2 separate regions of the Homo sapiens genome follow, and region 1 is linked to region 2. Evidence: promoter capture Hi-C in 16 types of primary human blood cells and fetal thymus (Javierre and others, 2016). All regions are on one chromosome and are shown on one strand. The core of a region is centred on a gene start or on the middle of the fragment in contact, and the rest is flanking DNA. Distances in the headings are between cores, read along the strand shown.

Region 1 (2,880 bases), core at 58-2,557, 130 kb before region 2:
GATGGGGCTTCACCGTGTTGGCCAGGATGGTCTTGATCTCTTGACCTCATGATCTGCCTGCCTTGGCCTCCCAAAGTGCTGGGATTATAGGCGTGAGCCACCATGCTCAGCCTTTTTTTTTTTTTTTTTTAAGAGAGACAGGGTCTCCTCTGCTGCCCACTTGGAAGTGCAAGTGGTATGAACACATGATCATGACTCACTGCAGTCTTGAACTCTCAGGCATAAGAGACCCTCCTGCCTCAGTTTCCTGAGTTGCTAGGACTGCAAGTACATGCCACCACACCTGGCTAATTTAAAAAAAGGTTTTTAGAGATGGGGTCTCTCTGTGTTGCTCAGGCTGGTCTTGAACTCCTGGCTTCAAGCAATCCTCCTGCCTGGACCTCCCAAAGCATGGGGATTATAGGTGTGAGGCACCATTCCTGGCCCAGGAGATCTGTATTTTTATCCCTGTTTACCGAGGAGCCACAGAGAAGCTGGCAGTTAGCTACACTGTCAGAGCTCACAGATAGGACACCTATTGGGTGTGAGCCAGGGAGCTGACCTGTGCTTCTGCCCACTGTTGCTGCTCACACCAGTCTCTCTCAGGTTTGGCACTGTGTAGAGTCTGTCAGTATCTGTTTTCTCTGCTAGACGTCAGGTTCCTTGGGGCATGACTAGGTTTGTCCCATTATTAGCTACATTTGTTGCTGAATGAACTGACTGATGCCCAGTGTCCTCTCTCTGGGCTACTGTGGACAGTCAGACCTTTAGGAGCTCTTCAAGAATTTGACTGTCACTCATCATCCTGTTGACTGCTCCACTTTGAAGACTTGACTTCTCTCTCCTCATGATCCCACCATCTCTAAGCCTGTGGAACTCTGCTCTGACCCTTTCTCAGCTCTTTGCTGTGATGCCCTTCCTGGACTAGTTCGGTCCTGGGTAGTGCCTTCCTGTCATCACCCTCAATCTTGGTCATTCCTTTTGGATTTCCTTTGATAACTCCTTTTTTTCTTCATTGACTCAGTCAGAATCTGGTTATCATATGGAGACTGAGAACATGGGCTTTGCTCTCAGCCAAACCTGGGTTCAAGTTCTAGAACGGATACTTACTAGCCCATGACGTTGCGCTAGTCATGTAATTACTGAGACCTCTGCTTTTTACTTGTGAACTGGGGGTTGGTAGGAAACTACCTGCTGCATTAGGCTTTGAGCTTTGAGTGTACGGATGAAGCCAGCTACTGCCACTCTCCTGTGGCTGCTGGAACCCTAAAGGCAGTTTGTTGGCTCTTACTTCTTCTGTGCGTCTTGTTTGGACTTGAGCTTTGTTCACTGCCCCAGTTTCCTCCCTGCTGCTTTTTGGTGCTGTTTTCTGCTTGTTTGACAATGCTTTTTATCTAGCTTGCCTTCAGCTATTTTTCCTTCAACAGTCTCAGCCCAGAGTATGCCCTGCTTGTCTTCCTTTGACCCAGGACCCAGAGTATGCCCTGCTCGTCTGCCTTTGACTCTTTGTTCTGGTACTTGTTTTCCCAGGATTATATTATTGACAACAAATATAGCATAGGTGCGCTGTCTGTCTTGTGGTGCGCGTAGGTGCGGACTAGGGCCTTGCTGTGGTGGGCCTTTGGTTTCCTGCAGTTGATTGTTTTTCTCTCTAGGCCCCTTGGAGGCATCTGGTATTAGTCACTGTCCTAGGGCAGTGGTGGCAGTCATGACTGTTCTCTGTCTTGGAGTCAACACTTTTACCTGCAGTGCACATGCAGCAGGCACTTGCCCAAGGTTCCAGAGCTGCTCAGTGATGGAAACTGGACTTTATGCCTGGACCTTTGTGGTCAGGGACTGCCCTGATGTGGCCAGGCCTCCCTGGCTCAAGAGGTTCTCTGGCTGCCTGGAGGGTCTGCATTGGGCTCCAGGAAGGGGAGGAGTCGGGGCTAGGGCCCTTAGCACTGGTGATGAGGAAGGTGCATCCTCATAATGCTGGCCATCTCTGTCCTTAACTGGGAGAGCTGCCATGGTTGCTAGTGTTGAGCAGATGGAGGTTTTCAGTTTTCACTTGAGCCTTCATCCTATGTAACAGCCAGGAGGATACTCTTCTGAGCCTGGCGTGGGCCTGACAGCCATCTCTCGGGGCTGTGTGTTAAAGTCACCTTTCTGAGACTTTGGTGGGAGACCAGCTGGGCCTCCGCTGCTGGGAGGAGAATTGCTACCTTGGGAGCTTGAAGACCTTGGAATGTGCAGCGACGTCAGCTCTTCTCAGCCCGTCGCTGAGTCCTTACTGTGTTCCCGTTGCAGAGCACGTGCTCTGCATGGAGGCCTCATGCCATCCTTAGTTGGTGGAAGGGCTCAAAGACAGGCAGGGTGCTAGGGACTGAATTGTGTCGTGTCCACCCCAGATTCCTATGTTGAAATCCTAAGTTCCATTTAGTGGTATTTGGAGGGAGGCCTTTAGGAGATAATTAGGTTCCGTGAGGTCACCAGGTGGGGCTCTCAAGATGGGACTGACACCCTCATACAAAGATACACCAGAGAGCTTGCTCTCACCCTCCCTGCTGTGAGGACACAGTGAGAAGGCAATGGTCTAAGGGCAGGGAAGACAGGCTTTCTCAGCAACCTAATTGGCCAGCACCTTGACCTTGGACTTCTAGGCCCCAGAACTGTGAGGAATAATTGTCTGCTGTTGAAGGTGTTGTATTCTGGCCGCCTAAGCATACGAAGACACCGGGTCAGTGGAGGGCAAGAAGGTGGCTGGCTCTCTGGCAGAGCAGTCATTGAAGACTGGCTCCTTAGCCACTGGTGGCCTGAGGATGTATTTAGCTTGTCCTGCATTTTATTGGCCCACATAGTGTTCAAAAGTTAATTATAAACATGAAGATGTGGGGATTTAAAAAAAATGTGGATTTTTGT
Region 2 (3,003 bases), core at 232-2,731:
CCTTCCTCTGAATCCCACCCGGTCCCACCTCCTGAACCTATCCAGACACCTTCTCCTGACCCAGGCACCACCTGCTTTCGGGGCGATGGCCGTAGCCTCCTCCCAGGCACCTGTCTGCATCCCTCTGGCCAGTGCATGCTGAGCACGTGACCTACCCGTGTTGGGACACGTGAGGATACAGCCTTGACCCCCAGGGGCTGACATTCTAGGGGGAGATAGAAGGAGACAAACGTAGAAGGTAGAATAAGTGGGTGGTGGAGTGGCAGGGAGTGCTGAGTGCCACAGGAAGTCAGACAAGGAAGGAGAGTGTGGGGCAGGTGCCGTTTAAATGGGGGGCGCTGGGGTCTCCTCACAGTTGCTTCTCAGCTCAGCTGTGCCAGGATCTTGTTGAGTCAGGTCAGCTGCCCACAGCCCTCTTGCCTGACCCCTGAAGCCCAGAACTCTGATCTTCACAGCCCTAGGTATGGCCCCAGCACCCCACTGCCCTCTCTCCTGCCCCAGCCGACTGCTGTTCCCAGACTTCCCTGGCCACGCTCCAAGACGCCAGCTCTGCCGCGGGCACTTTGTTCTCACGGTGTCCTCCATGCCTGCAGGGCCCATGCATGGGAAGTTGCGTTGGCGGCCTGGGTGTTGGCGGTTCCGTGCCTGCTCCAACTCTCCGTGAGGCCCCTCTCCCAGAGCCTGACACACTCTGTGGCCGAACTCTAGGCAGGTGCCCCTGAGTCCTTTCCTCGACGAGGCCTGACCCCATCCCCATCCTCGCTGGGCCCGCCGACCCCGGTGTTAGCAAGAATCCTCTAAATCAGTTTATGGAGAATTACCCACCCTCGATATCTGATCCCATTCCTCATCTCCCACCCTTGATCTCATCACCCTGCCGGCCTCCTGCAAGATCCTCATTGAGCCACTCCAGTGAGAATCCCCCTACCCTCGAAGGCCGCCCTAACAACTTCCCATCCGCTGACCCCTCCAACGCCATCAATCTCCAGCTGTGGTTGTTGAACTCGGAGGTGAGCTCCTCTCACCACTCTCTTGAATAAAGCTTTTCTCACCATTTTAACAAGTCCTCAGAATCATCTTTTCTTAACAAGCTCCTGCCCCACCCAGAATCACGGGGGGCCTGGGGACAAGTTTTCACCTCCTGAGATCCAGTGGGGCAGCCGGGGAAGGGGTGGTGCAGAGGGGGCGTGTGCTTGAGGGTGGGGTCTTGGGTCTGCCCCTACTTGTGGGACCCCACAGAGGGGTCTAAGGCCAGGGCCCAAGTGGGAGGCTGGGCCCACAGATAACCCTAGGCAGGTCAGCGGCTCGGGACAGGAGTGTGAGGCTGAGTCAGGGCCAGAGGATGTGGGACTGCTGGGGGCTGCTGCTGTGCTGACACATTAACTCCCTGAGGCCGGGAGGAGGGTGGATGGTCATTTATTACTGCGGACACTTATGTAACCTGGGGTGTATATAGGAGCCTGGCTGAGGACACACTCGCCAGCCTGTGCTTTGCCACCTGAGCGCCGCTCCCTCTCAGGATGAAGGTGACGGTGGTGAGTACCCAGACCCCATGCAGAGAGGCTCTGCTGACTGCTCTCCTGGTGGCCAGCCACTCCCGCCCTCTTCTAGCTGGCACTGGCCAGCCCTCCTCCTCCGTCCAGCTGGGCAAGAGCCAGCGGCTGCCGACCCCCAGGCTCCCTGTGGACTCAGTCTCCTCCCAAAGCCACTTCCACCCCTCAAGGGTGGCCATGGGTGCCGCTCAGGCGTGGTGTCCCCTGTACCCCGGAAGCAGACGTCTGCTGACTTTCGCTTTGCAGATGAGGACCTGGGAGTGAGAGCTCCTGGGACTCGCTGAGGCCAGGGCAGGGGCTGGGATGATGGCGTGGGAGAGGCTGTGTCCTCGCGTGTCACCCACCAGCCCTCGAGCAGAGGCAGGCTTGGAGTCTGCAGCCACCCTGGGAATGTCTGTGCTTCCTCGTGGAGCTGACATGATGGTGAAATAGGTTCAATCCTCCACCTACCCAGGGCCCAGACCCTTCCCTGGTCTACCGACCTGATGTGGACCCAGAGGTGGCCAAAGACAAGGCCAGCTTCCGGAACTACACGGTGAGTACCTTGCCGTCCTGCCCCCCTTCTCCCCCATCCACACCCTGGGGAGCAGCACTTGCCCTTCACACAGTTCCAGGGGGTGCCCTGTGGGAACTCCCACCCCCATCACACCCTGTGGGGCTGCCTGGGAGAGGGGAGGCATGGGGCCTCGTGTGCAGGGTGGGGGTGGCGCCACTGACCCTCCGGCCTGCAGTCAGGTCCCCTCCTGGACCGTGTCTTCACCACCTACAAGCTCATGCACACGCACCAGACAGTGGACTTCGTCAGGAGCAAGGTAGGCGTTTCCTGCCGCCCCGTGCAAACGCGGAGGGACCCTTGCCCTCAGCCCCATGAGCCCACCAGGCGCCGAGGGGATGGAGAGGCCTGTGTGGTGGGCCTGCTGACCCTGGGCCACACTGCCTTCTCCTTCCCCGCCAGCATGCCCAGTTTGGGGGCTTCTCCTACAAGAAAATGACAGTCATGGAGGCCGTGGACCTGCTGGATGGGCTGGTGGATGAGTCGGACCCGGACGTAGATTTCCCCAACTCCTTCCATGCCTTCCAGACAGCGGAGGGCATCCGGAAGGCCCACCCAGACAAGGGTGAGCCCTGGCTGTGCTGCAGGGGGGCAGGTGCTGCCTCCAAGGGGCAGAATGCAGCAGCCTGTAGGGTGGGAGGGGACAGTAGTGGGCCCAGGCCTCCTCCAGCAGCCCTGCCTGGGTTGGGGAGCAGGCCCTGGACCCTTCCTGGCTCTCAGCCCCGCAAACCTGCTCATCCTCTGCCTTGGCCCCTGCAGTCCCCAACCTGCCCTGTCCATCCCCCTCCCAGACTGGTTCCACCTCGTCGGGCTCCTGCACGACCTGGGGAAGGTCCTGGCCCTGTTCGGGGAGCCCCAGGTAAGAGTTGGAAGTGGAGGGTGAGGAGGCTGCATGTT

The links. The method cuts DNA at HindIII sites, captures the fragments that hold promoters and counts their contacts. A CHiCAGO score of 5 or more calls a contact.
Region 1: a fragment that was not itself captured here is called in contact with the fragment with the promoter of MIOX in region 2 in 12 of 17 cell types (total CD8 T cells, M1 macrophages, M0 macrophages and 9 more); the score reaches 8.3 in total CD8 T cells.

Annotation. Positions count from the first base shown.
Region 1 is chr22:50,360,239-50,363,118 of GRCh38, forward strand. All of the region lies in intron 1 of PPP6R2 (protein phosphatase 6 regulatory subunit 2), which reads left to right. Among named protein-coding and RNA genes, the nearest start is that of PPP6R2, 18 kb to the left of the region's middle. RefSeq lists an enhancer at 1,216-1,265. The HindIII fragment of the contact is 3,779 bases long and covers 1-2,880 here.
Region 2 is chr22:50,485,378-50,488,380 of GRCh38, forward strand. MIOX (myo-inositol oxygenase) reads left to right here and starts at 1,482. Exons shown (of 10, transcript NM_017584.6): 1 at 1,482-1,535; 2 at 2,008-2,088; 3 at 2,285-2,365; 4 at 2,509-2,671; 5 at 2,898-2,965. The coding sequence starts at 1,521. It overlaps ADM2 (adrenomedullin 2), which reads left to right. Exons shown (of 3, transcript NM_001253845.2): 3 at 1-1,060. The HindIII fragment of the contact is 4,673 bases long and covers 1,041-3,003 here.